7 separate regions of the Homo sapiens genome follow, and regions 1, 2, 3, 5, 6 and 7 are each linked to region 4. The links are contacts of gene promoters, found by promoter capture Hi-C in blood cells and fetal thymus (Javierre and others, 2016). All regions are on one chromosome and are shown on one strand. Each heading gives the region's core, a stretch centred on a gene start or on the middle of the fragment in contact. The rest is flanking DNA. Distances are from core to core; before and after follow the strand shown. Region 1 overlaps LOC124901351 (a long non-coding RNA gene). Region 2 overlaps ELOVL4 (ELOVL fatty acid elongase 4). Region 3 has its middle 62 kb from the start of LINC01621. Region 4 holds the start of TENT5A (terminal nucleotidyltransferase 5A). Region 5 has its middle 45 kb from the start of LINC01621. Region 6 overlaps LOC124901349 (a long non-coding RNA gene). Region 7 has its middle 48 kb from the start of LINC01621.

Evidence for each region. The method cuts DNA at HindIII sites, captures the fragments that hold promoters and counts their contacts. A CHiCAGO score of 5 or more calls a contact.
Region 1: a contact is called between a fragment that was not itself captured here and the fragment with the promoter of TENT5A in region 4, in 4 of 17 cell types (total CD4 T cells, naive CD4 T cells, naive CD8 T cells and 1 more). The highest score is 10.5, in total CD4 T cells.
Region 2: a contact is called between a fragment that was not itself captured here and the fragment with the promoter of TENT5A in region 4, in 4 of 17 cell types (naive CD8 T cells, fetal thymus, total CD4 T cells and 1 more). The highest score is 9.8, in naive CD8 T cells.
Region 3: a contact is called between a fragment that was not itself captured here and the fragment with the promoter of TENT5A in region 4, in 6 of 17 cell types (naive CD4 T cells, naive B cells, total CD4 T cells and 3 more). The highest score is 9.6, in naive CD4 T cells.
Region 5: a contact is called between a fragment that was not itself captured here and the fragment with the promoter of TENT5A in region 4, in 1 of 17 cell types (naive CD4 T cells). The highest score is 5.1, in naive CD4 T cells.
Region 6: a fragment that was not itself captured here is called in contact with the fragment with the promoter of TENT5A in region 4 in 3 of 17 cell types (total B cells, naive CD4 T cells and activated CD4 T cells); the score reaches 9.9 in total B cells.
Region 7: a contact is called between a fragment that was not itself captured here and the fragment with the promoter of TENT5A in region 4, in 1 of 17 cell types (total B cells). The highest score is 7.1, in total B cells.

Annotation. Positions count from the first base shown.
Region 1 is chr6:79,952,451-79,955,875 of GRCh38, forward strand. The region is part of intron 1 of LOC124901351 (a long non-coding RNA gene); the gene reads left to right. It also overlaps the pseudogene GAPDHP63. Among named protein-coding and RNA genes, the nearest start is that of ELOVL4, 6.6 kb to the left of the region's middle. The HindIII fragment of the contact is 1,160 bases long and covers 1,362-2,521 here.
Region 2 is chr6:79,931,989-79,935,259 of GRCh38, forward strand. All of the region lies in intron 1 of ELOVL4 (ELOVL fatty acid elongase 4), which reads right to left. Among named protein-coding and RNA genes, the nearest start is that of ELOVL4, 14 kb to the right of the region's middle. The HindIII fragment of the contact is 3,184 bases long and covers 100-3,271 here.
Region 3 is chr6:79,872,179-79,875,441 of GRCh38, forward strand. No RefSeq gene overlaps it. Among named protein-coding and RNA genes, the nearest start is that of LINC01621, 62 kb to the left of the region's middle. The HindIII fragment of the contact is 270 bases long and covers 1,478-1,747 here.
Region 4 is chr6:81,750,690-81,754,012 of GRCh38, forward strand. It overlaps TENT5A (terminal nucleotidyltransferase 5A), which reads right to left and starts at 1,992. Exons shown (of 3, transcript NM_017633.3): 1 at 1,742-1,992; 2 at 901-1,489. The coding sequence starts at 1,452. RefSeq lists enhancers at 1,653-2,153, 3,014-3,063 and a silencer at 2,064-2,193. The HindIII fragment of the contact is 5,877 bases long and covers 1-3,323 here.
Region 5 is chr6:79,855,268-79,858,703 of GRCh38, forward strand. It overlaps the pseudogene LOC100422671. Among named protein-coding and RNA genes, the nearest start is that of LINC01621, 45 kb to the left of the region's middle. The HindIII fragment of the contact is 881 bases long and covers 1,727-2,607 here.
Region 6 is chr6:79,780,406-79,783,814 of GRCh38, forward strand. It overlaps LOC124901349 (a long non-coding RNA gene), which reads left to right. Exons shown (of 2, transcript XR_007059655.1): 2 at 1-1,858. Among named protein-coding and RNA genes, the nearest start is that of LINC01621, 30 kb to the right of the region's middle. The HindIII fragment of the contact is 413 bases long and covers 1,354-1,766 here.
Region 7 is chr6:79,762,589-79,765,991 of GRCh38, forward strand. No RefSeq gene overlaps it. Among named protein-coding and RNA genes, the nearest start is that of LINC01621, 48 kb to the right of the region's middle. The HindIII fragment of the contact is 3,137 bases long and covers 197-3,333 here.

The DNA.
Region 1 (3,425 bases), core at 692-3,191, 1.8 Mb before region 4:
AAACTTTCCAGTAAATGAACCATAATTTTATGGACTCAGCAACTTTGCAGTAGGACTCACCTGCCTGTGAACCATACAAAGATAAATGACCCCCCTCTGATCTTGGAGAAACTGTCTTGAACCTGAAGAATCCATACACACTATACACAAAAGCAAATGTGAATAACAACTGAGGGAAAACATTGACTTCTGTAACATCACTTATATATCTGTTCCCTCTTTCTCATCCTTGTCGGTTTCTCCTCTTTTTGTGGCCTGTGAATGTTAAAATTCAATTATTTCTGGCTGCTTTACAAGTTTTTTTTTTTACTTATGTTATCCTTTCTGCCTAAACTATTATGATTGTTATTATTTTTGGCTGAGCACAGGGGACTTTATTGATGGTACACGACAACATGGGGCTCCCTAGGCCCCTCCCTCTTCAAGGGGTGTGCATGGAATGTGTGAGGAGGGAAGATTCAGTGTGGTGGGGAATGAGTGTGCCAGGGACTCCCCAACAGTGAGGGCCTCTTTCTTCCTCCTGTGCTCTCGCTGAGGCTGGTGGTCCAGGGGTCTTACTCCTTGGAGGCCATGTGGGCCATGAGGTCCACCACCCTGTTGTTGTAGCCAAATTCATTGTCATACCAGGAAATGAGCTTGACAAAGTGGTCGTTGAGGGCAGTGCCAGCCCCAGCATTGAAGGTGGAAGAGTGGGTGTCACTGTTGAAGTCGGAGGAGACCACCTGGTGCCCAGTGTAGCCCAGGATGCCTTTGAGGGGGCCCTCTGATGCCTGCTTCACCACCTTCTTGATGTCATCATATTTGGCAGGTTTTTCCAGATGGTAGGTGAGGTCCACCACTGACACGTTGGCAGTGGGGACACGGAGGGCCATGCCAGTGAGCTTACCATTCAGCTCAGGGATGACCTTCCTCACAGCCTTGGCAGCCCAGTAGTGGCAGGGATGATGTTCTGGAGAGCCCTGTGGCTGTCACGCCACAGTTTCCTGGAGGGGCCATTCACAGTCTTCTGGGTGGCAGTGATGGCGTGGACTGTGGTCATGAGTCCTTCCACGATACCAAAGTTGTCAGTGATGACTTTGGCCAGGGGCGCTAGGCAGTTGGTGGTTCAGGTGGCATTGCTGATGATCTTGAGGCTGTTGTCATACTTCTCATGGTTCACACCCATCGTGAACATGGGGGGATCAGCAGAGGGGGCAGAGATGATGACCCTTTTGGCTCCCCACTGCAAGTGAGCCCCAGCATTCTCCATGGTGGTGAAGATGCCAGTGGACTCCATGACATACTCAGTGCCAGCATCACCCCACTTGATTTTGGAGGGATCTGGCTCCTGGAAGATAGTGATGGGATTTCCATTGATGACAAGCTTCCCGTTCTCAGCCTTGACGGTGCCATGGAATTTACCATGGGTGGGATCATACTGGAACATGTAGACCATGTAGCTGAGGTCAATGAATGGGTCATTGATGGCGATAATATCTACTTTACCAGAATTACAAGCAGCCCTGATGACCAGGCGCCCAATACAACCAAATCCATTGACTCCAACCTTCACTTTCCCCATGGTGTCTCAGGGATGTGGTTGGCAATGCAAGAGAAGATGCAGCTGTCTGTCAAACAGGAGGAGCAGAGAGCCCTGCCTAAATTATTTCATGCACTCTCATAGCGTTGGTTACCATCTGCATTCATAACTCTCAGATATATGTGTTCAACCTAGATCTTCTTTCCAGCTCATGTATCTCATAGCTTGTGTGGTTCTCTTTAATGTAACTCAGGCATCTTGAAAATCAACATGTTAAAAACCTATCTCCCCCCCTCCCACAATCTGTTCTTCTTTCATATTTCCCTATTTCCACACATGCCAAAAGTGATCAATGACATTTTATAATATTCTCCCTTCCAACACACATCCAATTCATGACCACCTCCTATTAATTCTGCTTGCAAAATATATCTTGATTTTTTCCACTTCCCTCAGCTCTACTGCATATAATTTAACCGAAAATTCCATCATTTCTCTCCCACCTTAAACACTTCAAACTTCAATCACCTCATTTTTTTTTTTTTTTTTTTGAGACAGTCTTGCTCTGTCACCCAGACTGGAGTGCAGTGGCATGATCTTGGCTCACTGCGACCTCCGCCTCCCAGGTTCAAGTGATTCTCCTGTCTCAGCCTCTTGAGTAGCTGGGATTACAGGCACTCACCACCATGCCCGGCTAATTTTTGTATTTTTAGTAGAGATGGGGTTTCACCATGTTGGTCAGGCTGGTCTCGAACTCTTGACTTCGTAATTCGCCTGCCTTGGCCTCCCAAAGTGCTGGGATTATAGGCGTGAGTAACTGTGCCTGGCCTCAATCACCCCTTAACTGATCTCTCTGCATCCATTTATTTCCTCCTACAATTTATTCTCACACAGTACTTTGAGTATCTTTTAAAATTGCATGTCAGATGATGGCATTTCTCATCTTAAAATCTCTTAATATTTCTAGTACTCTCAGGAAGCTCCAAAGCCTCCACATCTAGAAGCTTAGAACATTGTAAATCTTTCTTCTTGCCTAATGAAAGTGTGATCTAGAATGCCTATCATTCCTTTACCACTTCTGCTTTTAGTATACAGGGAAGCTAATCAGGACCTCCTTCTGTTTCTCCAAAGAGCCAAGCTTCCCTTGACTCAGGGCTTTTGCACATAACTTTCTCCCTCTTGGAATACTCTTTCACAACCTCTGACTAGAGCTAATACCCACTTTACCTTAAATGTATGACCTAGGAAAACTCTGACTCCAATAACAAGGTTAGATCCCCGTTACACACATGTTCACGGTGTCTTGTACTTTTTTGTCATAGTATTTGTATCATTTAGCATTAGATATGATTACATATTACAGAAAAACCCAAAAGAAAAGTGCCTAAAGCAAAATAGAAGCTTTTTATTTTTCACTTCCTTAAAGGATGTCAGGATGTGGACAGACCAAAGTTAGTAGAGATAAAAGAGCCAGTAAAAGGTAAGCACGTAATAACAGACCTTTAAGATACATAAAGCAATATTTGACAGACTAAGAAAAAAATTAGACAAATTCAAGATTATTGTTATAGAATTTAATACCCCTATTATATAATTAATATAATAAATAGGCAAAGATAAATTATAATATAGAAGAGATGTATTACACTGTAAATCATTTGACCTGGTGGAGGCCAAATTCATGGGCATGAAACAATCACAAAGATCTATAATTTTATGGGCTGTTAAATAACTCTTAATAAATTTCAAATAGGAAATAATATAGAACTTGACCACAAGGGGATTAAATGGGAAATCAATAACAATGAAATATCTATAAAAAATTTTAAGGTCAAGCACAGTTGTTCACACCTGTAATCCCAACGTTTTGGGAGGCAGAGGCAGGAGGATCAATTGAGGCTGGAAG
Region 2 (3,271 bases), core at 442-2,941, 1.8 Mb before region 4:
TTATGAGAATTACTAAGGCACATTACACCTTAACCCTTGCGGACCCTTAAAGAGTTAATAAATAGTTTGTAATGAAAATATTTTGAGACTGATTTTTAAAGCTTATGCCAAGAGGGACTGATTTAATGTGTTCAGCAATCATACAATTTTATCTTTATTAAAAGGTTACGTAATAATTATGTAACTATGTGTTTGTCAAAATTCAAAAACTGTTCACTAAAAGGAGTCAATTTTACTATTTGCGTATTATTCCTTTATAAAAAATGAGGGGGCCGGGTGCAGTGGCTCACGCCTGTAATCCCAGCACTTTGGGAGGCCGAGGCAGGCGAATCACTTGAGGTCAGGAGTTCAAGACCAGCCTGGCCAACATGGTGAAACCCTGTCTCTACTAAAAATACAAAAAAAATTTAGCTGGGCGTGGTGGTGTGCGCCTGTAATCCCAGCTACTCGGGAGGCTGAGGCAGGAGAATTGCTTGAATCCGGGAGGTGGAGGTTGGAGTGAACTGGAATCACGCACTGCACTCCAGCCTGGGTGACAGAGAGAGAGAGAGAGACTCCTTCTCAAAAAAAAAAAATAGAGTCCACCTGAAATGGGGTTTCCCTTGAATATCTTCCACCAATAAGTTTTTATTCTTAATCTGATTTTTATCTTAAGATCACATAGCATGGTGGAATAGATGGTAAGTCATATACTCCAAAGTCATATACTACTCCTTTGCAGCAAAGTGATTTTGGCCAGATCACTTGGTCCCTGATCTCTCAATGCTCAACTAGCAGAGGAAGAGACAGACATGAGAATTCAACTGCTATGCAGTGTGATGAGTGTTATGTCAGAGGAGTGTCTTATGAACAGTGGTAGGACAGAAAAGGGGAGAAGGCAGGGTATAAACACAGACATTTGAACTTTTTTTCAAAGAAGAGGAATTTGACAAGCAGACAGGGAGAAAAGTCTTTTTTCACGGGGCAGAATTAGAAAGACCTACAAAAGTTCCCTTAGTACAATGACAAGATATAAGCAAATGAGAATATCTGAATACCCTGAGAGAACTGAATGTATAAGCAGCCCAGAAGCAAGAAATAAAACAATCTGGAAACTAAGCAGACATGATGAAGAGGATATATACAAAGGAAGAGGGCAGGAAATGACTGTGATGATCCCCTAGGAGGTCTTACAAACTACACTGAGGATGCTGGAATTTATCATGTAGATAATGAAGAGATATTTGATTGTTTTTGTTTGTTTGTTTGTTTGTTTGTTTTGGGACTGGGTCTGGCTCTGTTGCCCAGACTAGAATGCAGTGGCATGATCTCAGCTCACTGCAGCCTCCACCTCCAGGGCGTAAGCGATTTTCGTGCCTCAGCCACCCAAGTAGCTTGGACTACAGGTGCATGCCACAACACCCAGCTAATTTTTGTGTTTTTTGTAGAGACGAGGATTCGCCATGTTGCTCAGGCTGGCCCTGAACCCCTGAGCTCAAGCAACCCACCTACCTCAGCCTCCCAAAGTGCTGGGATTACAGTCATGAGCCACCACACCCAGCCAGTTTTGGCTTTCAAAAGATCATGGTAGAGGCAGTGGGGTGTGGACTGAGGGGAAGGGGATATGTCAAGAGGCAGGAAAACCAACTGCATCAGTGGTTCTCAATACTTGTCTACCACTAGACTACCCATGTAAGAATCATGTGCTTGCTAAAATTATAGATTCCCAGGTCCTACTGAATCAAAATCTCTGCGGGTGGGACTGGACACTATGATCTGAGCTCCCCCAGGTGATTCTGACAGGCAGGCAGACTTGGAGACCACTAGGACATAAGAGATGATGGAAACCTGGGTTAGGGAGCTGCACTGGCAATGAACAGGATAGGTAGATACGAAGGTTTCGTGGGTAAAATCTACAGACTCCACGACTGTTGTGGATGTGAGAGAAGAGAGTCAAAGAAAAGTTCAGGATTACTCCCAGATTTCTGGTCTATCTGGCAACACAGACAGTGAAGTCATGATCCATAACAGAGTAAAGGAAGAGGAGCAGATCTGGGAGAAACTGATCAGGTGAATGTTGAACATCTCGCATCTGAGCTACTTTTGGGACAGCTAGGTGGAGGCGTCCAGTAGCCTCTGGAGCTGCAGAGGAACTGCCAGGGCTGTGGACACACAGAGGGGTCACTGACAATGACAATCACACCAGAGTTTGAGGTCACAAGGGAAGGAGCATGTACAGTGAGAGAATAACATGAAAAAGGAATGACTCTGAGGACAGTTGAAGATGAGTGGGTGAAATGGCAGCAAATAAGCCAGAGAGGCAGGAAAAGAGAAAACCATGTCACAAAGACCGAGAAATTTCCAAAAGGAAAGGGTGCAGAACAGAATCTATAGCTGGAAAACCAACTGTTCTTCCTTTTTCTTTTTTTAATGAGGAAATAGTTACTTCATAGGGTTAAGATGTGATAACTAAATGAACCAAAGTATGCGAAGGTTCCTAGCACACATGGATACCACGACGTCATGCATTCCCTTCTGCTGCAGCCTATTCTCTCCCAAATTTACATCTTCACAAAGTATGTCTCATGTCAGAGATAATCTGAGCCCCTCCCCTTAAAAGTCAAGCCCCTCAATGTCTTCCAGGATTTTTCTTCTCAACCTAGAGAGTTCTATATTCTGAATATGGACTCTCAAATCAGACTTACCAGCATTAGACTCTTCACTTACCAGCTGAATAAACCCAAGAAGTTACTTAGTGCCCCTGGCCTTATAGATGATAGTAGGGCTGTTGTGAGGAATAGAACAACATGTATACAGCATCTGACACAGTGTCAGAGTTCAATAATTTTTGGCATTTCATTATTATTGACACTGATCAACCACTAAATCCTCCTCTATCTTCAAAGAGAAAAGTTAAACCAAATTAAATAAAAATTACCATGAATAATTAAACTTAGAAGAGTTTACACTGAGAATAAAAAAACATTTTATGACATAGACTGAGAAGACATTTTATAATTCTGTATTTATTTATTCAGGAGATAAAATACATAAAAATTCTCACTCTGATTTTTAAAATTATTTAGAGAGGCTATTTTTAAAAACTCCTTTTCATGACAATATAAACCAGATTTTAATAAATAATAAAATGCCTGTAATCTAATAGTTTTCAACTAACCCAGGTAACTTCTACTTAATACACAAACAACTATAATTAATACTTACAACAAATTATCAGTATGTTTATTAAAGCAACTTCCTTAAAAACCTCTAATAGACCAATTTTTTTTCT
Region 3 (3,263 bases), core at 363-2,862, 1.9 Mb before region 4:
GAACCAAAATGTAATAGTGGTTGTTTTAACTCTATGTTCTTTCAGTCATTTAGATCCTCTACTCATTCTCTGAACAAGCATTTTTTAAGTGCTTACCATGTTTCATGCTATGCTAGGAGCTATGAAGAAGGGGGAATAAGAGCTGCTTGGTTTCATTAACTTTAGTGTGATACACCTTCTGAATCCTGTGAATAAAGAGTCTGGGTAAACTAAGGTCAATACATAAAAATAAAACAGATTACAGATGTTCCCACAGTGAAAATGATCACTGTGCACACTGGTGTTTACTTTAATGGACACGTGAATGGGAATGGTGTCAGCACCACACTCTGAGTATCATCAACTGACTCATGAGAAATCCAGAACACTGAAAGGAGGTAGAGAGGCTGTGTTACCTCTTCAACTTTGAGCCCCATCTTGCTGAATCAGAGAGTCAACTGAATAGGATTAATATTAAGACCAAACAAGGACGGTTTCAAGTTGTTTGACTAGATATTTCCTCCTTTCTCTCTTATCATATGTTGTTTTTCCTAATTATTTAACTCTTAGGCCTTCCAATTCTATCCCTCCTTGTTGATTTATACCATCCATACTCTTTTGGGTAATTAAGATTTCCTTCTTTAGTCATCACCCCAGCATATAAATTTCATTATCTTTAACTTATCTTACTTATCTCAGTGTAAGAAACTCATCTAAATACACCTATCCACTTCCTTTTGCAGACACGATCATAACATTTGTAATTTTTCTCGGTTGTAGCTGAATAAGTTACTTAGAAGATGATTTTACATGTTCTTTTTATTTCTTTACTTATCCTCTGTCTACATTTCTGACATGTGCACATGCTCCAATATCTAAGGTTAAATCTTCACTGGTTGGGCAGGTGAGTAGTTGATATACGACTAACAGGCAATTCTCCTTCAGGAAACTCAAGATTGTGTAAGTATGCCTGATTCATCCCTGCTGCTGCAACTGAAACATGTAATAAAAGAGCAACAACAAAGAGAGGCGATGATGACAGCTTAGCTGCAGCATCTTGTTCTCTAGCTCAATAAGCCAACAGGGAAACTATGACCCTGGTGAAACAAGTAGCTCTCAGAATCATTCCAGTCATTCCAAAGAGTGATGTGATTTTTCTTCACATGTTCACAATGAAGATACTATGTTGTTTAATTGATGCTCTTTTTCAAAGTGTGTTCTCTTGTTTCTATATACCTCCCTTATAAGGCTCCATACTGTCATTCAACTTAATTTCTGTTCAACAGAGATTTCTTAAACACCTCCTACATGCTAAGCACTGTGCTAGGAGCTATAAATATCATGAGGTGGATACAGACATGGCTGTCTCCTGGTACATTCTTTTTCTATCATTCAATCACATTCACCTATTTTTAAATATGTTGATAATGAGTCAGGATATAAGAATATAAGGCTAAAAGCACGGGCTCTGATCAGAGAGACTTGGTGATGAGCCTTAAGCTTATCACTATTATGGTGGTCATAGGCTTACTTGCATGTACTACTGAGCCTTTGCTTTCCCATTTGTGAAATAGAGGTCACATTAGTACCTACTCCCCAGAATAGTTTTGAGGATTAAGTGAGATAAGTGCTCCAGTGTCTTGAATTTAGCAGTGTTAAAAAAGTAGAAGTTCTTATTAATTAATAATATGATTTTCCTGAGAATGTAAACACAGACTCACTAGTTCTCTGCCAGAAGGTGAGGCACCTCCTTGAGCCTCCTAAGAAAAGCTTTTGACAAAGGTTGAAACTGATGTGTAATTGAATTCATAACAAGCTTGTTGAATGGTCAACCAGGAAATATTAAGGTGAAGATTTCTCATGTCAAGTGAAATTAAGAGAATATGAACTAGTGCTGTGACCCCCAAGCTCCCTTTCTTTAAAAGACATTTTCTCTGATTTATTCTGAATAAAACAAGTCTGAGAGAGGCTGTGAAGTAATGGTTCTGTGGTAATTAGGTCATCTTCAGAAAGTGCTATATAAAATATTATGCATTATATATTCACAATGCACTTCATTAGCATGTTAAAAATTCAGAGAATACTAGCAGAAAAGAAGCCGGTTTTAATTTCTTATCATTTCCCAAATTCATTTGTCTGTAGGATTCTTTGTTTGTTGAATAGCATCAAGTAGCATCTCAAGGAACACCCTTTGGGAAATGCTGCTGAGAGAAGCTAAGAACTTGCTTCACGATCGTCAAGCACTGAAAAGGATTCATACTTGGGAAACTGGCAAACTGTTTTTCTGACCCTGACCCTTGCCAGTAGTATAATCATGGGCAAGTCACTTGATTTCTTCACATGTAAAACAAAATGATAATATATCCTCCATGGACAGCCATAGAGAGAAGATTCATTACAAAATGCATTTACGGTAGGAACAGAAGTTGACAATAAAAGTTAATATTGTCACAATGTGCATTCTAATTTACACGAAACTCATTGCAAGGAAGCAGATCTTAAAAGTAGTCTTGATACTGGAAGACTGGGAAGAGTTTGGGTGTGCTCAGGACAGAGCTATTGACTAAAGTGTGAGGTATGTGTAGAGAAAGATGAGGAATCAAGGCTGGGAAGACGAGAAAAGGAGGAAGATAATTTGGTGCTGGGGTGCTGAGGACACTAATAGAAATGGTGAAAAACAAATGTGAGTAGGGGTGGCTGAGGGGTAAAGCCAGACTCTTTTCTGACATGCTAGTTTGAAGAGCAAACAAACCATCCAGTTGGCAATTTCATTTATCTAGATCTTAGGAAAGAGTTCAGAGCTTGTGAAACAGGAAACATTAGCATATTATTGTGAAATTTTTGAGAGAAGAATCATTTCTTATTCAGCTCCGTATCTTCTGTGTTCAACCTGGTGTCTGGTGCGTAGTAGAAGGTCTTAAAAGTTTGACAAATGAATTAATCAATGAACAAATTAATTAACTGCAAGTCTAACAAATCAAAGTAGATTCCAAGCCATATAACCGAAGTGGAATAAAACACCAGTTAAATGAATGAAATGATAGCTGAACCCCTGGAATTGGGAAGATCCACAATTAAAGGTGCATGGAGAAAAAGAAGAGGACCAAGGACAAAACAAAGAGGTACAACTTATTTGATGGCTGGCAGGAGCTAGAGAAAACAGAGTCAGAGACTGAAGAAGAAATGAGTGTTTTGCAAAAGGATCGGAAAGAAAGGAGAAGTTGGGTGTCAATGATATAAAATGATTCTGGGAGATCAAGTGGAATGAGACTTATCTTCCGTAA
Region 4 (3,323 bases), core at 742-3,241:
TAGTTTGAGGCTTTTGGCAGACGTAGCACAGTAGTAAGAGGTTTTGTTGTCATGTCTGACTTTTTAAGTGTTACTTTTTGAAAACGGTCTAATAGGCACAATATTCACACAGTATCCAAACAACATTCAAAAGACTCGGAAGGGCATTCAGCGGTAGGTTAGTCAGCCTCTCGCCCTTGTTCCAAGCCACCCAATTCCTCTCCGCCTGCGGCAATCAATGTTATCAGTATCTTGTGTGTCCCTCCAGGGGCACCCTGCAGTTACAATCAAATATAAACTAAATTATGACATTCCAGGAGCCTGCCTCCTCAGACAATTTTAACTAATCATATAAAACCCGTCTTGAACTAAAGTGGAGGGTGGGGAGGGGGTGCCACTATACCCTTAACATATGAACCAGCACGAAGAACCACCAGATAGACCTTTAACACGTAGTCAGCTGAATGCCGCTGTGAAATCTATTCACCTTTTCCAGTACAATAAAAAACTCATTGACTCACTTCTGCTTCAGGCTGTTATTTTCCCAAAGGCTAGACTCAAATATAATGACTCAAAAATTATTTACATCATTTCATTCTGCCAAGTATCAGAATCTACTCTGGACAAGACTCCAACAGGGAAAGCCAAGAGTTAAAACATAAGGAGAAAGAAGAGAAGAGAGGGCAGAGGAGGACCTGGGAGAAGAGTTGTAGCGCCAAAGCATCAAGTAAACTGAAACACTCAACACCGTCCACGCACGTCAGTTTACTGGTTTAAAAAATCAAAAATCAAAGAAATAACGCGCGCCCAAACTCGTGATGGCCACAGATTCATGGCATTTAACCGATGCCCCTCTGCCCGCTCCCCGTCACACCCGGCCCAGACTGGGTCAGGACCCAAGTGCATCTCGGGTGGTGTTACCTTGAGCGTGAGTGGTGTGATCTTCTCTTTGTTCACCCCCTCGGGTAAGAAGTCCAACAGGCAGTCCAGCACGACGTCCTTCACAGTCTGAAACTCCCCTTCCCCGCGCAGGTCGGCGCAGAAGATGAGGTCCAGGTCCTTGTAGCCCAGGCCGCTGTCCTGGTGCAGGACATGGCTGGCTGCCGAGCCGTTGAGGCGCACGTCGCGGACGCCAATGCGCTTCTCGGCCAGGCGCCGCCGCACCACCTTCACGATCAGGCTCGGCTGCAGCTCGAGCGTGGGGAAGTTGCCGCGCCCGTGAATCGGAATGGTCTCGCTCAGGATGCCGTCCAGCCGCTGCACTTGCTCCCAGTTCAGCACATTGCAGTGCGCCGTAGGGCTTTCGCAATAGTCCAAGCAATGCCCACCGAAGCTGCCGCCACCGCCGAAGTCGCCGCCGCCGAAGTCGCCGCCGCCGAAGTCGCCGCCGCCGAAGTCGCCGCCTAGGGGGATGTAGGGGCTGCAGGCCAGCTCGTCCTCAGACATGGCGAAGTACCCTTCACCCTCCGCCATGTAGTGCCCGCCGAGCGCCACTTGGCCCTGGTCAGTCCTAAAAAGAAAGGGAAAGGAGCGCGGTGAGGACGCGCGGCGGCGGAGAGCACGCGCGGCGGCGGAGAGCAGAGGCCCGCCAGGAAAAGAGCGCCCCCTCCCCCGATAGTTCCCTGACCCCGGGCCTCCTCGGAGACTCCCTCCCCCGGCCCTTACAGTCCCCAGCCGCGCACCGCGCCCCGCAGAGCAGCCCCGCACCAAAAGTATCTCTGATGCATCTGGAAAGCGCAAGCGAGAGTCCCGTCTGTGTCACCTGGAGGCGGCCGCCCCTTCTAGGAGCGCAGCGAGCGAGAGCGAAACCGAGAGGCGGCAACACTTCCAGGAGCTGCGAGCGCGCTCAGACAGCAAATAGCGACTTCGTCTTTCCCAGACCCCTGCCGCCTGCGCTCACCACTCCCTCCCCGCGACCCCTCCTGCGCCGCTGCCACCCCAGCTGCGGTGGTCCCGAACTGGCGGCTCTTGCTGCCACACACGCTCGTGTCTCTGGAGCTTTAGCAGTTGTGCGGGGAAAATGTCTTCAGTACTTTTTTTATACCGGGCTTCTCTGCGCTTCCGGGGCCCAGAGCGGCACGTTCGCCACACCCTCCTCATCTGCATAGGGCGCCGCCCCCTCTGCCCTCCCCCGCCCGCAGGGCACGCAGCTGACTAGCCCAGCAGTTAGTGCGGGACGACTGCCGGTGAGCGTGAGGTCCTGGGCTGTATGTGCGGATACTGTGTGCGCCCGTAGATGCGTGTATTTATACATACATTTAATTTATGTACGCCCCCTCCCACAAATCTCTTTTCATTTTCCCCAGGAGGAGACACTTTAAATGCCCCAGGAATCATAAGTGGTCATCAAAACCAGATCACGACTAAAATCCTGCAACTGCAGAAACTTCCCAAAATTCTCGCGGACTCAGCCCGTCTTTAGATCATCACGGTTGGGCTCCGGAGGTTCCTCACGACCGCTCTTTTAAACCTCGGTTTTTAGGTAGACCATTTACTCCATTGATAAACCCGATCCAAGTGTGGACTCATGAGTCCACTCTTGCACGCAAATCAGTCACGGCGCGTGAGTGGGAAGGGCTTGTTGATAACTGGGTTTCGATTCTCGAAACCTCGGGAAGCGCGCCGGGGAGCTCTGGGCGAGCCCGAGAAGGCGCGGGGGCGGCACCACGGGCCTCGGGCGTGCGCGGCTCCTGCGCACGAGTGGCTCCAAGGGGCCAGTACTTCGCGGGGGTCAGGGCGCGTCACGGAGCAGACGCGGGCGAGCAGCCAATGGCCGAGGACTGGGCGGGCCGAGTGGGCGCAGAGAGCGCGCCCGGGGAGTGCGTGCTGCCCCGGAGTCCAGGGAAAGGGCCGCTAGGTGTCCGGTGCCTTTGCTGCGAGTTCTCTGACAAAATTGGAGGCGGCGAAGCGCGTTCCTCGCGGCCCCCTAAAGTTTGGCCATTTTAAGTGCATCATAGTGTCAGTGGAATACGATTTGGTTTTCCACGAGACGTAAAAGTAGGAGTTTCAAGAATAAAATGAATTCTCTCCTCCAGCTTCGGTGACTTCGGCAGAGCTAATTCTACGCACGCTCACTCGCGCCACCACCACTCTTTGCTAGAAAGCTGTGGCCGTCTCTTCGGCAGCTCGCTGCCTCCATCAACTAACCCGGAGCAGCTTTCCCAGCGCCTAGACGCTGCCGGGGGCTGAGGTGGGGCAGAGGGGAGAATGCCAGGGTCACAGAATACTCCCCAAACCCTGCTCAGCCCTGCCCGCCCAGACTGGGAGGAAAAACAGCCCGCACCTCCTAACTGGGGGAGCCCCGGCCTAGTCACTCAAGCTGCGCGGCTCGGGGGTGAGGGGTA
Region 5 (3,436 bases), core at 917-3,416, 1.9 Mb before region 4:
AAATGAAAATAAAATGAAACTATAATTCAGAGAAGATAAGCACAGATGCAGCCAGAGGGCACTACAGTTAGTTGTCACCATTTCTTACAGAGTAGTAGACCAGTACCTTAAGTATATAAGTGTATGACTGAGGCTGGGAAGTGGTGGGACCAGGTTTTGCAGTTTTTGTACAGTTTTGAATTGTGCACTAGTTTGAAACTTTGCCATAACTTTTGCTTGATGGTTGACATATTTGCTAAAATTAAAGACTTTCATACCAAATGTGATGAAATTTTTCTAGAACAAAATGTTCAGAATCAGATGGAACAGGATTAGAACTCAGCTATCACAAATCTCATTTGCATAGACCAGTTTGCTTACAGTTCTTTTTCTTTAATTTGGATTAAGAAACATGGGTATACCTTGATCTAAAGGCTGAAACTCAAGATTTAGGAATTTACCAGAACATACAAATGAAAAAGATCACAGACTGATCTTTTATAAGACATTATTTGATGCTTTGTGTTTCAAAGGGATAATGACTCTTATCTGTGTAAGCAAACTTACTGGCTTACAATTGTATTTTAATATTTACCTTCTAGTTTGTAATGGAGAATGTATATTTTTTGAAAGTTTTTTCCCCATTGGTTAAATTAGCATTACTTAAAATTTATTTCTTTTGAAAATAAATACAGGGTAGAAATTTGTGTATATTTAGAGGGTATACGTCTCTCTAAGCCCCCTCGCTTCTGATTTTTCATTGCTTTCTAGTTCCTTTTACTGAAAATACTATGTTGTCAATGGTAACAAACTTTAGTCTCTGAAACTTCCAGAACCAAGCAAAGGAATCTTAATGAATTAAAATGTCAGCCTGCGTGTATATTTTACCTACACTTTAATCAAGAACAAGTCTTTGGCAGTAGAAGAAATACTCGGCCTTCCTAAGACTTATTTACTTATAATGAATACATTTAATGAATGTGCATTCTTCTCATTGATTTCTGACCATAATACCTTTTAATTGAAAATCTCAATACACAAATTAAAACTGAATAGGCTGTAGTATTTTTTATTTTGGGAGTCAGTGTATGATTTGGGAGAGGGAATATGTATCAGCTCCAATAGAGTGTAACCTTTAACTTTCTGGTCTTTTCTCATAAGTTCATTATGGCATTTTGAGCAATGTGATCCCATATTGACCATGTTACTAAGCCCCTTCTTAGTCAGCTTGGGCTGCCATGACAAAATGTTATAGACTGGGCGATGTAAACAATAGATGTTTATTTCTCACAGTTCTGTAGACAGGGAAGTCCAGGATCAAGGTGCCAGAGGATTCAGTTCCCAGAGAGATCTCTCTCCCTGGCTTGCAGTCAGCTGCCTTCTTGCTAGCTCCTCACATGGCAAAGAGAGAGAGAAGGAACAAGCTCTTTGATATGTCTTTTTATAAGGGCACTAATTCCATTGTCTGGACTCCACCTGATAACCTCATATGAACCTAATTACCTCCCAAAGGTCTCATCTCCTAATGCCATCACACTGAGGGTTAGGGCTTCAATATACAAATGCGGAGGGGTGGAAATGTTAGCAGCATAATGCATCTGACTCCTGTGGTACCAAATTATGTTACCAGTAGTGAAGCCAGCAACCTCAATTCCTGCCTCCTCAGAAGAGAGAATTTGACCAAGGGGCTTAGGCAGAATGAGAAACCAAGGCAAGTTTTACAGCAGGAGTGAAAAATTTATTTAAAAGCTTTAGAACAGGAATGAAAGAAAGTACACTTTGAAGAGGACCAAGCAGGTGACTAGAGAGATGAAGTGCATGGTTTGACCTTTTGACTTGGGGTTTTATACACTGGCATGCTTCCAGGGTCCTGTGTTACTTCTCCTCTGATTCTTCCCTTGGGGTAGGCTGTCTGCATGTGCAGCGGCCTGTCAGCACTTGGGAGGGGCCGCATCGCAGTGTGTTTACTGAGATTGTACACCACTTGGGCCTTCCCTTACCAGTTGAGTGTTTCTAGAGGAAGGACACATACCAGTTACTCTGCCATTTTGCCTCTTAATGCATGTGCTTCAGACTACTCATCCAACTCCTGAGATTTTATTGGGAAGTTGCTGATCCTCAGTTTCAGGCTTTTTCTATCTATTGGGAGACTGCCTTTCTCTGGCACTGGCTGTGATCAATTATCACATCAGAATTGATGGGAAAAACTGAATAGATAAACCATACTCTCAAAAGACGCATTGTCAAAATATGTCAAGAAATGAATTTGATTTGGGATAAGTCATTGCTGGTTGCCCTGTTATGGATTAGAGTGGCTCTCTGAAGTAGGCTCAAATTGAGTCCCTTATGGTAGGCTACTCCAGGTGTCTGCTCCAGTGGGACCACCAACTGATGCTTTCAAAGATTTAGCAGTTGCCAAATATGTTAAGACTCTGGGCACTATACTGACTTCTGTTCATGAGTTTGCTTCTAGCAGGACCACTCATCCCACAGATGTAGCCCTAGATCATTTTCAACTGGGAGACTGTGTCCTCCTGAAGACTCTGAAAAAAAAAGGACTTGAACGCTGACCTCCTGCCAAGTTGACAAGGCCATTCAAAGTGCTGTCAAATATTCACTCATCAGTTAAGCTTGCTGGAAGAAAGCCATAGGTGCATCACACTCAGGTCAAGGCAGCACAACCAGAAGAAACCAGGAAAACAAGGGGCTTGGGAGCCCTTGGAGGATCCAAAGCTACTCTTACACAAAAACAGTAAGTGAAATAAAAATGTATGTCCTACCACATTTATTTAAGAATGCATTCCAATATCAAATGGCAAATTTCAACAATGCAAAAACCGCAATTACTCTTGCACCAACCTGAAGCCTGTTTCTCCAATCACCTGTAGGGTCTGATTGATAACTTCGTACCCAGAGGTCCATGCTTCTTTCTTACTCAGCACTGCATTACACATTATGTGCAAAGAAATAATAAGAACCCACAAGCTTACAAGTGTAATTTCTATTGACCAAATGACCTCCCTAGGTTAAGCCACCTGTTGCACTTACATTAATTCCTCCTCTAAAGTAGAGACCCATATTAGTAAAATTATACAACAGGCCACCTGACTTCAACGAACTTTAGAACACCAAAGCAGAATTAATCTGGGCACTTTCAGGGACTGGTTTATAGACCTGTTCTCTGGGATTCCTAGTGGAATTCAGTTAATCCTGGAAAGCATTCTTAAATTGGGCCTTAATATTCTTCTTTTGTCATGGCGGCCTACGTACTAGTAAAACTTACTATGTATTGCATAACCAAAGGTTGCATGAGTTTGACTATCAAAGCAAGAAAGGAGATGCCCATGATCATTGTTCCTAAAAGAAACACTAAGGACTATTTCCTTAGGCGGGTCAAACTATTTTATTCTACAGTCGCCCCTCATCAACCTTGTCCAGCAAGAAATAGGCAGATGAG
Region 6 (3,409 bases), core at 310-2,809, 2.0 Mb before region 4:
TATCTTTCTCCACTATAATGCTGGCTATATAATGTTTGCTGTCTTGTGGAAGAGAACAGATTATTCGAAGGTAATGATGAAGTGTAAAAGAATGGGATGAGTGAAAGAGAAATGAAGAACAGTGATGCAGTGATGATTCATTCACTCATTTCCTACTACAACAAATATACATATATATATTTGATACCTATTACATATGTATATATCAGGTGTCTACTAGCAACATGGAGTCATGTTCCGGGGATTGGAGATGCATCAGTGAACAAAACAAAATTCCTGCTATTTGAGACCGACCTTGAGGAAAGACAGAAAATACATAAGGGTGCTTTGTTGTAGGAGTTGAGTTGGAGGGATCTGGGAGATGATCAAGGAAAAAGATGTGAGCACAGGGGGCAGTAACATACAACATGCTTTACTGAATGGCTCTTGGATGGGGTTGCATGAAAGAGGATGTCTCTCCTAGTGAGACCATCCAGAGGTTTAGGGCAAGGGGGCCACTGTTTAGAAGGGGAGAAGAGCAAACAGAAAATCAAGAGAGAGGGGGATTAGAAAGGGGGCTTAGAGGATCTAAGTGATGTCACTCAGCAGTACAGCAGAGAGTCTGGGTCAGAGAGCTCAGAAGGGCCACAGTGTTCAGGGCCTTATAAGTACAAGGCCCCATCTGATCAATGAGCAACAGCTGTTGGGTGAGGCCTCATAGGGTACGTAAAGTAGGCAGGCTCCAGATGGCTAAAAATCTGCTTGTTTGTGCTATTTTTTAAATAACTGGATGTGTAAAAATTTGCATTTGGCATCAGCAGGCTTTTGAGCTGACAATTTAACCTGCAGTGAGGAAATAAACAAGGTAGGGTTCAATACACAGAATCAGTCTTTGGTTCATGAACATAACCTAGGTGCTAAGGAGAGGGAGCAGGGTAGGAAGGCAAAGTAGGGCAGGAGAGGGGCTCTGCTTTTGATGCATTGTCTGAAAAGGCCTTCGTTGTAAGAGGACATCTGAGCAGAGACATGCATGAAGAAAGAGATTGAATGCCCTGCATGATACCTGGGAGAAAAAAGTTTCTGGTGCTTTTGTTTTGTTCTGAGGAGCCACTACAAGGCCAATGAGATAAGAGTGGAGTAAGCCAGGTAGACTGTGGTGGGGATGAGGCTATGTTCTGTAGGGCCATGCAGCTGCATACAATAAGGCCTCCATTTTGAGTGATCGGGGCACTGTTGGAAAGAGGAGAGACAGATTACACTTTGGTTTTAAAGGTGCTCCAGAATGCCACAAGAACAGATGTTACCCATGGAAGGAACAGTGGTGGCATGGACAGAGTGGAAAGTGGCGAAGGTGATGAGGAGTCAAACTCTGAAAGCTTTTCAGGAATAGAGCTCACAGAATATGTGAGGAATTGAATGTGAGGTGGGAGAAGAAGGGTGAAGGAGGCAAGGATAACCAGGATGTTTGGCCCACGAGGCCTTTACTGGCTACATTTAAGTGATCATGATATAATGTGGTGGCTATTTGTCCCCACCCAAATCTAATATTGAATTGTAATCCCCAGTGTTGGTGATAGGGCCCGGTGGGAAGTGCTTGGATCATGGGGGAGGATCCCTCATGAATGGCTTGGGCCATCCCCTTGGTGGTAAGTGAACTCCCACTCTGAGTTCATAGGAGATCTGGTGGTTTACAAGTATGTGGCACCTCTTTCCACGTGCTCCCTGTCTTGCTCCTGCCGCTGCCATGTGAGACACCTTCTTCCCTTTCACCTCCCACCATGATTGTAAGCTTCCTGAGGCCTTCCCAGAAGCAGATGACAGCATCATGCCTCCTGTACAGCCTGTAGAACTGCGAGCCAATTAAAACTCCTAGAAATTACCCAGTCTCAGGTATTTCTTTAGATCAGTACAAGAATGGCCTAACACAGATAGGTAATATAGTGCCAGAAGTATGGATTTTATACATTTAGACCTCCAGGGAGGTGTCTGTGGAGGCAGAATCATGTGAACAAATGCACAGACTGTGGAGCAGGTGTGGGAGTTGGAGGCTGGCTCCTCCACTTCATAGCTGTGTGACCTTGGGCACCTTCCTTGACTTCCTATATCTGTAAAATGGAGGAGCAGTAATTTGTGGAGATATGAAGGTGAACAAATTTGTAATGAATGTATAAAGTGCTTAGTACAGTGCCTGGCACATGCTAAGTACCCAGTAGATGTACCTGTACTTATTACGATTGGTGTTCAAGGAGCCTCAGAGATAGGAATGGTTATTGTCAAGGGACAGATGGAGGGACAATTTCAAGTGAAGTGAATGAGCTCATTTTGGTTTTCAAGTACCCCTAAGAAAACATTCTTCTTTGGCAGGACTGGCTACATAAGTTGTGGGGCCCACTGCAAAAAAAAAAAAAAATGCAGAGAGCCTCCTGCTAAAAAAATCTTTCAAAGTAACACCCACAGAGCGTTACACCAAGCACAGGACCATTCAATGCCAACGCCCTGTTCATCAGAGAGTGCTTCAACTCTATCTTCCTCTAAGTAGGTCTCCACTAGGGGCCTCTAGGGGCCTATGACCACCAGTTCTAGACCAGAGTGGAGTCAGTGGCACAATTCTGTCGTGCACTAGCTTCACAGCCTACTGTGTCATCCCACTCTGACTCAGAGGCCTTCTGTTGTGGCTCTTATGACCACTTGAAAAAGTGGCTTCCTTCCCTCTATGATCTCAAATAAAATGAAATCCTTCTAAATATATGTTCTAAGCTAATAGAAAGACAAAAAGAAGTAAATGAAAGCATCATTCCCTTGAGAAGATAATCTGAGGTGTACACACAGGATAGACAGTTATATCTTCCTTACCATTTGGATAGGACCTGATACATTTGAAAATGCTTCCATAAGCAGGAGTCCTGGGAGATACATGATCTTTTAGAGAACACAGAAGTTCAAAATGTTGACATGGTTTTTTTTAAATCGTTGCATTAGTGACATTACCAGAATTGGACACCTCGTCCCCTTGACTTCTGGTTCTGCATTTTTAAACCAGTGTGCAAGTTTGATAGAATCTAGAAGTGATGTCAGTGTCTCAACTAGGGCTCATGTGGAAGATATTAATTTAAAAGTTAACTTTCTTTTGGATAAAGAGGAGTGGAAAGTTGACCTTTATTTTCTTTTGAATGTGAAAGGCAATTCCATAATAGTAAGTTTTGCTGTATTTTTGTCTGTGTAGTATCTTGTTTGAAATGCGGGTGCCTTGAGATATTGCACTGGGGCTCTCTCTCTCTCTCTCTTTCTCTCTCTCTCTCTTTCTCTCTCTCTCTCTTTCTCCCTCCCTACATCCCACCCCCTCTCTCTTTCTCTCTTCCCTTCCTCCTTTCCTTCCTTCTTTCCATACACCCATCCTTCCTTCCTACAAATGCCTAGCATATGCTATGCA
Region 7 (3,403 bases), core at 515-3,014, 2.0 Mb before region 4:
GCATTTATTTTCACCTGAGCCATTAGGAGTCTACATATCCTGTCATGTGACTATGCTCAGTAGCCGTAATAGCATGATGGAAGCTGGACATCAGCAGTGAAGAGGAAAAATGGAAAAAGAATCAAGTATGTTAATATTCTTCTTCTGAAGGTGGGGAGGGGTATTGAAGTTATCTTGCTATTTGGAGACAGATATAAGCTTGCTTTAAGAAGCACAAATATGATTTAATTAACAGTCATGTTTTTGCATTGCATATCACTTCAAGGATTTGTATATTATTGTCACTTGGTGATTGAAGAAATAGCTTTACATTTGAGCTCTGATAAATAATAAAAAAGTACAAGTAAGAAAGACAGATTTTAAAGTCTATAGCAAATGAATTGCTTTTTTAAAAGAAAATGGGATATGTGTACTATTTACATATAAATAATTCACACGACATTCAGGTACATATGCATCTGTGTATCATTTTAAATGACAGGCACCAATTTAATGGAGAAGCTAGGGCTCATTAGTTCCCTGAGTAGGATTGATTCTTCATAACTGGAATGGTGCGTACAGCTCTTAGATAATTTGTAATGAATTGAATTTTCCCTCAGCATACTTAATTAGTGACTCTTTCTTTTGCTACTTAAAAGGATATAGACATTTAAAAAGATAAAAGTTTGGAAATTCTGCTAAAATGCTGGAAAGAAATTAAGCCTTCATGTGCATGGGCTCTATGGAAAAAAAAGCATGAGAAAAAAAGAAAATTTCATTTTGGGAGATGGAGATGGTAAGGGTTTTATTTCAAGAGCATCATATGTTTTTAGCCCATATGCAGAGTTATTTGGCAAATTCTACGTGATTTATGTCATCCTGTACCTTCTAGGTGCCTCTTGGCCACATACCTTGGATGACTGACTCTTCAGCTCCCGTAATGGTAAACCACAGGAATACTGGAGGACATTTCTTTCCTTGGGGTTTGCACACAGAGAGGTTTGCTTTTTACTACAGTAACTTATAGATAAGTTCAGTCCAAACAGAAATGCTGGCCCATGTACTGGGAAGTAGACAAACATAGATCTATAAATAAGTTCCTACTATGTTCAAAAATGTGTTGTTCTCATTGACCCAAGACCTGAAATGGTCATTTCTGGCAACCTGTGAAAATAGATGCTGTAGTAATTTTGGTTTCTGTCTCAGTTTTTATTAGAATTAGTGATTATTTCAAAACCCCACTATGGCATCGATTGGATATTTAGGAAAAATCTAGTAATTTTAAATTACATTCTCCTTTGAGGTGAATTCAAACTCTGCCCTGTCTTCTATGACCAACAGCACCTTATGTATTAAACTATGCCAAATATTAAAAATAATAGCTTACTGCTCAGAAAATGTAGAGGAAGCCAGAAAAAGTAGAGATAATTCAGTGGGCTGATAGTGTGATTGAATAGTTAAAAATTCAGTGTCTATTGCCCTTCAGAGAATAATGAATCCAATTACATATGCTCACATCAGATGAAGATTAAATGCTGTGGCCAAGGATGAGGAGTTTGAGGGCTGTTCATTGGTGGGTAACAGTATAGGGGACCTGTCTTTCCACATTAAAATGATTTGGATTAATAGAAAGCAAGTCTACCAGCCTGGAATAGAATAGGAATTCACCATCTCTGAAGTCAAGATATTTAAGAAAAGAAATGTATGACCTGAGCTGAGATGACATTCGCCTTGTCTCTGAATTTTCCAGGATACCATTTCAAGCAAAAAATATAGTCTGAATATATGTAATATATAAGGTTAGTACACAACTTATAATTAGCTTAAAATAGCAACAAAAATTGCACAGCCCTTACTTACTAGCCCTTACTTCTGAGAAAGGAATTCCACTTTCTTTCAGTAGTTTAATTGAAGAAGATTTTTTCATGCCTCCTTTTAAGATGTTTTCTCTGTCAGTCTGTCTTTTCAGATTTACAAGACCTAAAAAGAGGATCTATAATTACTGTTAATAGAACTGTTTAATTATTAAGTGATGTGAGATTCCAACAAACATAAGTTCCCAAAACAATGAAACACAAAAAGCCAATAAAGATAAATTAATGTGAATAAAGTAAAACAAAGATGAGCTATAAGACAGAACAGATTGACCTTGTAGACACATTCTCAGGCTCCTGCTATGGGATGGTGCCACGTTAAATGTCCCACTACACCAAGGCTCCTTACCTACCTCTGCAACATCAGCCACAGCATTTCACATTGTTAACAGCAAATGACGCAGGGGAATATTCGGCATGAGTTTACCAAACAGTGAACATCAGAGTTTTGGATCAGGCCCAGGGGTGTGCTGCTAATGATAGTGGCAGGAGGCAGACAAATTCCTAGGCAGATAGGGGCGTGTCCCTGGTGAAACCTCGCCTCCAAGCCAAAGACAGCCTGAAACCTGAAAACCAACCTGCCAGTTTCGGGTAAAGTCCCTGAATGGAGTGCTTTTTCCAGGCTTCCCATGGACCAGTCAGCAGGCACTCGCCTATCCCATAAAAAACCTGTACTCAGCCACACATTGGGACTACCCGCCTTTGAGTAGGGGCTACCCACTTCACATCCCTTCTCTACTGACAGCTGTTCTGTTGCTCAGTAAAACTCTTCCCCTCCTTGCTCACTGTGGTTGTCTGCATAACCTCATTCTTCTTGGATGCGAGACAAGAACCCGGGACCTGCTGAACAGTGGGGCAGAAAGGGGCTGTAACATTGGTAGCCCTCTTGCCCTCTGCTGGTGCTGGGCAGCTGCCCCATGCAAGAGCAAGTGACGGCAGGGCCAGGCCAGAAGCCACAGGCTGGAAGAGGGCGGTGGGAACAAACATACTGTAACACCCTCTTTGGGGTTCTGAGGTTGCTGCTGTCTTCAAAGTTTTCAGGCACCACCGCATTCCCCTCATCCAGAAGCCAGAGCCCAAGGTGGAACCAGGTCACAGCATGCATGGCCCAACTGAAGGCTGAGCTCAGATCCTGCTGTGAGCACAGGATCTGAACCACTAATGTGAGCCAAGCACATCCTGCTGGGCCAAGTGGGCAGAGCAAGGCCACTGGGCATGAGTGAAACTTGAGCAGAGGCCCTGCCAGCCACGGAGGTCTCTGGCTGGTGAAGTGGCCCTGAAAAAATCCTATGTCAGTAGCAAGCACTCCAAAAAAGTCTTGATTTGTAGTGTTTGTCAGTTTTCATGGTATAAAGACTCCCACAATTAACAAATTCAAGATATGCAAGCAACGTGACAGAACACAGTTTGGGAAATGATAATAATTGGCTCTTGTGAGTTGGCTTCAGTGCACCCCTGACAGGCTATTTCTAAGCCTTGAAGCTTTTATCTGATTAACATGTATGAAAAGTTTTATAACCATTGGCCATTTTTCCAATCTTGTGCTGACC